3 separate regions of the Homo sapiens genome follow, and all the other regions are linked to region 2. The links are contacts of gene promoters, found by promoter capture Hi-C in human tissues and cell types (Jung and others, 2019). All regions are on one chromosome and are shown on one strand. Each heading gives the region's core, a stretch centred on a gene start or on the middle of the fragment in contact. The rest is flanking DNA. Distances are from core to core; before and after follow the strand shown. Region 1 has its middle 13 kb from the start of ASCC2. Region 2 holds the start of CABP7 (calcium binding protein 7). Region 3 holds the start of MTMR3 (myotubularin related protein 3).

The links. The method cuts DNA at HindIII sites, captures the fragments that hold promoters and counts their contacts. A contact is called where the count stands out against the background at its distance.
Region 1: a fragment that was not itself captured here is called in contact with the fragment with the promoter of CABP7 in region 2 in 3 of the 25 tissues and cell types used here (adrenal gland, mesenchymal stem cells and stomach).
Region 3: a contact is called between the fragment with the promoter of MTMR3 here and the fragment with the promoter of CABP7 in region 2, in 2 of the 25 tissues and cell types used here (dorsolateral prefrontal cortex and hippocampus).

The regions. Positions count from the first base shown.
Region 1 is chr22:29,849,766-29,852,465 of GRCh38, forward strand. No RefSeq gene overlaps it. Among named protein-coding and RNA genes, the nearest start is that of ASCC2, 13 kb to the left of the region's middle. The HindIII fragment of the contact is 4,899 bases long and covers 1-2,700 here.
Region 2 is chr22:29,718,738-29,721,446 of GRCh38, forward strand. It overlaps CABP7 (calcium binding protein 7), which reads left to right and starts at 1,266. Exons shown (of 5, transcript NM_182527.3): 1 at 1,266-1,796. The coding sequence starts at 1,688. CABP7-DT (CABP7 divergent transcript) reads right to left here and starts at 1,166. Exons shown (of 3, transcript NR_186695.1): 1 at 811-1,166. RefSeq lists an enhancer at 2,575-2,709. The HindIII fragment of the contact is 29,567 bases long and covers 1-2,709 here.
Region 3 is chr22:29,881,826-29,884,558 of GRCh38, forward strand. It overlaps MTMR3 (myotubularin related protein 3), which reads left to right and starts at 1,349. Exons shown (of 20, transcript NM_021090.4): 1 at 1,349-1,534. RefSeq lists an enhancer at 1,155-1,449 and silencers at 1,162-1,331, 1,392-1,891. The HindIII fragment of the contact is 9,494 bases long and covers 1-2,733 here.

The sequences.
Region 1 (2,700 bases), core at 57-2,556, 130 kb after region 2:
TGGCCCCTTCACACCTCAGGGCACTAGCCCATGCTGCTTCCTCGGCCTGAAATAACCCCCTGCTCTCCTTGTCAAGGTAAAGCCTCCTCTTCATCTCATTTTTTCCCAGGTTATAATCACTTTCCTGATATACACATTCCTAGTTAGCTCCCTTCACTTCCCTTGTGTGTCACTGGTCACAGCTTATCTTCTTGTATTTATTGTGTGGTCAATCAGTGATTGACTCCTTCATTAGGCTATGTGTTCTGACAAATTAGAGACCTCATCTGTTTTGTTCACCAACCTTATCCCCAGTGCTTAGCTTGGTACCTGGCATCTTACAGTGTGCATTAAATATTTGCTGGCTGATGATTGAATCAAAGTGCTAGGATAATCTAGACCAACTCTTCCAATTCCAAGTAAAAAACCATGGTCCAGAGATGGGCAATGACTTGCCCAGGGTCACAAAGAAGGCATCTAATAGCTCCTTGCTGATTACTGACTTCCTTAAAATACCTTGGCCCTGAGACAGGGCCATTTTGAGGAGAGGCAAAACTGAGAGATTGAGTTGTTTTCCATGCTGTCTTAGTCCGTTTGTGCTGTTAAAACAGAACACTTGAGGCTGAGATATTTACAAAGAACATAAATTTATTTCTAATGGTTCAGGAGGCTGGGAAGTCCAAGATTAAAGCACTAGTAGGTTTGGTTGTCTGGTGAGGCCTTGCTCTCTGCTTCCAAGATGGCGCCATGTTGCTGTATCCTTCAGAGAGAAGGAACAGTGCATCCTTGCATGGCAGAAGGAAGAAGGGCAGGAGGGTTGAACTCCCTCCATCAAATTCTTTTATGAGGCTGGGCCCGGTGGCTCACGCCTGTAATCCCAGCACTTTTGGAGGCCGAGGTGGGTGGATAACCTGAGGTTAGGAGTTCAAGACTAGCCTGGCCAAAATGGTGAAACTCCATCTCTACTAAAAATACAGAAAATTAGCTGGGTGTAGTGGCAGGTGCCTGTAATCCCAGCTCCTTGGGAGGCTGTAGCAGGAGAATTGCTTGAACTCGGGAGACGGAGATTGCAGTGAGCCAAGATTGTGACAACGCACTCCAGCCTGTGCAACAAGAGCAAAAAAAAAAAAAAAAAAAAAATCCTTTCATGAGGGCACCTAATCCTATTCATGAGGGCCGTGCCCTCATGACTCAATCACCTCGTAAAGGCTCCACCTTTTAATACTGTCACATTGGCAACACCTGAATTTTGAAGGGGACACATTCAAACCATAGCACACGTTCTGAACAACTGTAGTTCCTCTTCTTAACAGAAGGCTCCCCATGAGGCACAAATTCTAAACCCAAGTCCATGAAGGGGCTCCCAAGATCTGTGTCCCCCTTGAATTATACACAGTTGTGTTTGGGGAATATTTTTCAGTAGAGAGACTGAGAGGCTTCATCTGATTCTCAAAGAAACATCCTCAAAAGTCTAAGAGCAACTCACGCCAGCACCCTGCTGAACCTCTTCTTCCCTTCTAGCTAGAAAAGCCATCTTAAGGCCCAAGAATCTCTGGTGACAGAAACATGGCTTAGTGTGAGGCTGTGAGGCAGGCAGTGGTCAGGGCAATGGTCAGTGGCTAATACATGGAATCAGAGAGAAATATATTCTCAGCTTCAGTTGGTTAGGGACGTCAGGGAAAGCTTCCAGGAGCAGGTGCCAATCAAGCTGGGCTATAATGGACTGTGAAGGTTCAAGAGGCTAAAAGTGATGTGGGGAGGGAAACACAGTCCAGAATTCCCTTCAGGCAGCCCCAATGTCTTCACCAATGCCCATTCCCAAAAGGGGAGCTTGTTTAAATTGTCCAGTATTTGGTGTCATTTTCGTCCAGAGATCATCTTGGATGTAGAGTTTCTTTTTCCCTTTCCCTTTATTTTATTTTTTATTTTTTTGAGTTGGGTTCCCACTCTCACTCAAGCTGGAGTGTAGTGGTGTGACCATGGCTCACTGCAGCCTTGAACTCCTGGCCTCATGTGATCTTCTTGCCTCAGCCTGCCAAGTAGCTAAGACTACAGGCATCGACTAATTTTTTTTTTTTTTTTTTTTTTTTAGAGATGAGATCTTACTATGTTGCCCAGGCTGGTCTCAAACTCCTGGGCTCAAGTGATCCTCCTGCCTCGGCCTCTCAAAGTGCTGGAATTACATTATAGGTGTGAGTTGCTGCACCCAGCCCCGTCTCCCTTTATTTTTTATTATTTTATTTTCTTTTAATTTTTATTTTATATATATATATTTTTTTTTTTTTTTTGACAGAGTCTGACTCTGTCACCCAGGCTGGGGTGCAATGGCATGATCTCGGCTCACTGCAACCTCTGCCTCCTGGGTTCAAGTGATTCTCCTGCCTCAGCCTCCTGAGTAGCTGGGATTACAGGCATGAGTCACTGCACCCGGCTATTTGGCTATTTATTTGTTTTTAATGGAGATGAAACTTTGCCAAGTTGCCAAGGCTGGTCTCTAATTCCTGAGCTCAAGCAACCTGCCCACATGGGCCTCCAAAAGTGCTGGGATTACAGGTGTGAGCTACTGCGGCTGGCCCATTATTTCATTTTTTTGAGACAGATTCTTGCTGTGTTACCCAGGCTAGACTGCAGTGGCACAATCACAGCTAACTGCAGTCTCAGCCTTCCAGGCTGAAGTGATCCTTGATGCTCAGCCTCCCAAACAGCCGGGACTACAGGAGT
Region 2 (2,709 bases), core at 16-2,515:
CCCGCTTGGCTGGGGCTAGCATCTCTCACTGAGCCCCTTCTCCCCAGACCCTGAGACAAGGCTGCGATTAATCAGTAACAAAAACAGAAACAAGCAGAAAAGTGTAATCAGCTTGGGAAGGGCAGGGCAGGACCGGGCAGGGCTGTGCAATCAGCGTTCCTGCTGGGACCTTTAGCTGATTGGGCCAAAGGGGGCAGGGAGGTGGTCCCAGTAGGGGGATTCAGGGAAGCACCCAGAGATGGGGCCACAGCCAGGCCAGAAGGTCACCCCCTCCCATGCACATCTGTGCACCATATGCCCACACCACTCCCAGCCCCAGGGCCTGCACACCTCCCCCGACCTGCCAGCGTACAACCTTGGCACACACAGGTGGCCACACACTCCCGACATTTGTCCATCTGCATATGGAGTCACAGACACCTGCGCACGTGCCCAGTGGCACATACACACCCTCATGGATAGCAGACATATGCACACGCAGGCTGCTCCCTCAAACACCTGCCCCCACCCCAGCTCTGGGGTGCCGACGTGCCCTGGGGCCTGGGGAAGCCCTGCACATACATTAGGTCTGAGCTGCAGCCATGTGAACTGGCAGGCCCTCACACCAGACCCCACAGGCACCGGGCCATGTCTCTGTCCCGAACTGCCCTGGGGGCCATGAGACACTTTGGCTCCTCTTCTGCAAGCTGAAAGGTAGGGGCTTGGGAAGGGTCCGGGACTGGGGCCCCATTGTGGGGAGCAAGGTCAGCGGCAGGGTGTCAGTCACAGGCAGGGCAGGAAGCCTACCCCAGACGTGTACCCAGCTCTTACCTGCTGCTCCTGCCCTGTGACCTTGGTCAACGTCCTTCTCTCTCAGCCTCAGTTTCCCCACCTTGGATCCTCCTGGCACGGAAACGGTGACTCTTCTTGAGGACCCAGGTGCTTGGGGCCAGTCTCACCTCTCTGGGTCTACAGTTCTTAGTTCCGGGCTCTCCGCTCCTGGTGCGTGGATGGGGGAAGGTGAGCCAAGGGGCAGGAAGGAGGACCCCCGCAACCCACCCCCTCCCTGGTCCTGGTGGCTGCAGACTTAGGGTGAGGAGAGCCAGTGAACAGAGGGGAGCCCTAGTGGGAAAGGGGAATCGGGGCCGAAGGGGAGAAGGAGCCCCGGGCAGGTTTGGGGCGGCCGCTCAGGGGCCGGCGGCGGGAAGGGGCGGGCTGGGGGTGGGGAGCGCGGAGGGGGCGGGCGGGCGGCTGGCGGGGGAGGCGGGGAGCGCAGCCAGCGCGGCACAGAACGAGCGAGCGAGCGAGCGGAGAGGCGGCTACAGCCTGAGCGCCGGGCCGGTAGCGGCCGCGCCGGCGAGCGGACTAGCGGGCGGCGAGCAGCGCGGAGCGCGCGGGGCACCGAGGAGCGGGCGCGGCGGGCACCGCGCGAGGCAGCCGGAGCTCTCGGAAAGGCCAGAGCGGCGCCGCCCCCGCTGCCCCTGCGGGGCCCCGGCTGGGAGCCCGACGAGGGAGCGGGCGGCATGGCCCGGCGGCCCGGGGCGCGGGGGCGCTAGGCCCCCGGAGGGGCGTCCCCAGCCTCGCCGCTGCCGCCGCCGCCCTCCGCAGCCGCGCGCCCCGCCCGCTCCAGCCGCCCCCGGGGCCGCCACCGGCCCATGAGCCCCGGCCTCAAAGTTTGCGGCGGGCGGGCGGGCGCGGAGCCTCCAAGATGCCGTTCCACCCGGTGACGGCGGCGTTGATGTACCGGGGCATCTACACCGTGCCCAACCTGCTGTCGGAGCAGCGCCCGGTGGACATCCCGGAGGACGAGCTGGAGGGTGAGTGTCCGCCGGGATCCCCGCCCCGGCGGCCCTCCTACCTGTGCGCCCAGGTGAAGCGCGGGCCAGGGGCGCGGGGGCGGGGGGCGGGGGGCGGTCCGCAGGTGCCGGTTGCCAGGTGGGCGCCCCAGCTAGCAGCTGTGCCCCGCGGCAAGACCTGTCCGCACCCCGGGGCGCCGCGGTGGGGGTCGCTCAGGCGGAGAGCGGCCCAGCCCCTGCCCGCGTGGTCCCCAGCGCTGCGGAAACTTGCCGGGCCCCGCAGCGGGGTCACGGGGCCGCGCAGTCGGCGGTGACGGTGCGGCAACGCGGCGGACTGGGGCGGGGGTCCGCGCTGAGCCCCCAGCGCCGGCCCGGCCGGAGCACCCGCATCCTGATCCCCTCCGCGGCGCCCGCCCGCGGCTCTCTGCTCGCATTGACATTCCGCTCGTGTCGCTTTAAAAATTCAATCTGCTCGGGCAGCAGCAGAAGGGGAGAGGGCGACTGCCCTGCTCTTGCCCGCTGCGGGGCCGCCCCCGTCCCCACCTGCGGCCGTAGCCCCTTCCCTGCAGCCCTGCGGGGACCCCCAGCCCGGCGCGCCGGGAAGGCGGCCCGGGAGGCGGTGGCGACAACAAGTGGCCGGACTGGGCGGCTAAGTCGCGATAGCCAAGCCTGGAAGGGAAAGGCAGAGAGGCCAGGACCCAAACCCGCCCCCACCCCGTTCCCCCTGCCTCTCAGACTCGCAGGGGGATGGCAGGCCGCTGGCTGGGCGAGGTCAGAGCAGAGGGCAGGGGCAGGGGTCCGGGACAGTGTGTCCTGAGGAGCAGTGAGACCCCTGGGGCCCGCCCAGCTCCTTCCCTGCTGGGCTGGGGGAGGTGCTGAGGTTTCCCCTCCCCCCAGACCTCCTGGAGCCCCCATATGGAGTGGAGTGGGGGAT
Region 3 (2,733 bases), core at 99-2,598, 160 kb after region 2:
TTGTATTTTTAGTAGATCCGGGGTTTCACCAAGTTGGCCAGGCTGGTATCGAACACCTGAGTTCAGGTGATCCACTCACCTTGGCCTCCCAAAGTGCTGGGATTACAGGCGTGAGCCCCCGCGCCCAGCCAGCTGTTAGTTAATCAAGAAATTCGACTGCCTACTACTTAACCTGCACAGTTCTAGGTGCTGGGGAAACAGTGACGAACAAGACAAGATCCTTATCTTCAAGTAGCTTTTACATTTTAGTGGAGTAAAATGACAGTAAACATTGAAAATAAATTTCAGAAAGTGCTGTGGAAAAACTTTACAACAGACGCAGGAATAGATTTCATTTGACTAGTTCTCCCAGTTTCCAGAAAAGTCAAGGGTAGAATGTTAAAAGGCAACTCAGAGGAGGTGAATCTGTTAGGGCCTACGGTAATGCAATCCTGGTTTGTGGAATTCTGCAGGCTAGTGTGGGTAGGTTACAATTTTTTGGGGGAGTTGTTTTTTACTTTGTTTGAAAACTCACTTCTTCCCGCTGAGCTTTTGATTAGGAGCTGAAGTTGAATCAGTTTGAAATTGTATTCTGGACCGGATGCGGTGGTTCATGCCTGTAATCCCAGCGCTTTGGGAGGCCGAGGTGGGTGGATTGCTTCAGCCCAGGAGTTTGAGATCAGCCTGGACAAAATGGCAGAAACCTCATCTCTACAAAAAATACAAAATTTAGCCGGGCATGATGTTGTGAGTCTGTAGTCTCAGCTACTCAGGAGGCTGAGGTGTGAGGATCGCTTGAGCCCGGGAGGCAGAGGTTGCAGTGAGCCGAGATGCCACTGCACTCCAGCCTGGGCGACAGAGCCAGACTCTGTCTCAAAAAAAAAAAAAAAAAAAAAAAAAAGAAAAGAAAAGAAAAGAAATTGTATTCTGAATACAACTTCTAAAACACTATATTTACTTGCATTATATTAAACTGGTTTTATCCTGACCACAATTGCAGGTGGAAGATACCACTATTGTTCTATTTTTCTGGTAAGTAGAGTGAGCCATGTCTTGCCCAGGGTTACAGAGCTTGGAAAAGACGCCTCCTAAAAATCTGTAGGACCACCTTTGGTTTTCTTCCAGATTTTTTTTTGTCATCTCTTTTCCTCCACCCATTTCCCATCTGTCTAGCCATTCTTGCTCCGCTGGGCTTTTTCGCGAGCCTCTCCCCAGCTGCAGCCCCGCCCATCTCCTGGGGCGTGACCACCTGTCCAGGCCCCGCCCCCGTCCAACCGGCGGAGACCCGCCCCCTTTCCCGGACACCGGGCTCAGCGCCCGAGCGTGCGCGCGCGTCCTCGCTCGTCGCCCGGCTCGGCGTCGGGAGCGCGCTCTGTGTGGCCGCTGCCGCCATGTTGTTGTGGTTGTGAGAAGGCGGCGGCGGCGGCGGAGTAGCAGCCGGACGAGACGTCCCAGCGGCTCAGGCGCTGCCCAGCGCCGGCCCTGGCAGGGAGCCTGGTGGGGTGGCGGAGGGGGAGACTGTGCCGTGGAGGGCCTCGCCATGTCCTGCTGCCCGGTAAGAACCCCATCCCCGTCCTCCGTCTCCTCGGCGGGTGAGGAAGAGCTGGAGGAGGGGCCGGCCTCGGCCCCGGCCCTGGCCAGGCGGCTGTCACCCTCTGAGGAGGCAGCGCCCTGGGAGGGCTGGGGACTGCGTGCGGGGCCCGGGGAGGGGCGTCCCCGGCGGCTGTCGCCGCCAGGGGGAGGCGCTGGGTGTGGGAGTGGGAATGGGAGCTCGGCGGCCGAGCTCGGCCCGGACCCTAGATGCGGGGGAGGCGGGGTCCCGGGCTCGGGCTGCCTTCCCAGACCTGGCGGGGATGGGCCCGTGCGGCTCTGGGTGTGGGACGTACCCTCGGAGCGCCCGGAGTTATTCCCACGAACTCCCGGGAGGTGGGTGTGCGCCCTTCGCCCCCTGCCGGGTCTGTGGCGGTCCATCGTTGCCGGATACTGGAGGTCAGGGGCCATGGGAGCCCCGGGGCGAACGGTGCGGGCCTGGGCCTTGTGGAAAGGAGGAGTGACCGCCCGATCGTGCAGCAGGGCATCCCCCTGACCTGGTAGTACTTAGGTGGGTAGGATGATTGGGGGCGGTTGGCGTAACTGAGGGAACCCTGGTCAGACTGCTCCGCAAATGATTACAGTGTTATTTCTCCGGTAGTAATTTTGCTTGATGTATGGCATTTCCGGACCCATAAGATGATACTGTAGGTTGTATTTTGGACTGGAAAACTTATGTCAAAATTATGGGGTAGATTTTTTGGCCACATTAATAGACTCCCCTGGAATTTGATAATCTCACTTGTGAGTTTTGGACATGGACTGCTATTACATATTGATGTTCAAATGTCCTTTCCAGACCCAGGCCTAAATTCTTACTGTTGTAGTATCTTGATTCTGACATCTATTTTTCCACAACCCAAACAAACAAAACAAAACAAAACAAAACCCCAAAACCATATACTTTTCTAGTTAAGGTTCAACTTTCTCATATGTGAATGGTAATGCCATAAGAGGCCTGGGTTGAATTACAGGAGATTATTATTATTTTTTTCAATGTGAAATGTTTGTGATTTGTCCATGGAGAGGTGGTGGGGACCTTCCCCTTTCAGATTCAGGGCTGTTCAGTAGGACAGGAGACATTGATGGCATGCAGAAAGTCTTCCCTTTATAGGGCCTATGACTTGGGTAGGCTAGAAGAGCTTACAGAATGACACTTTTTTT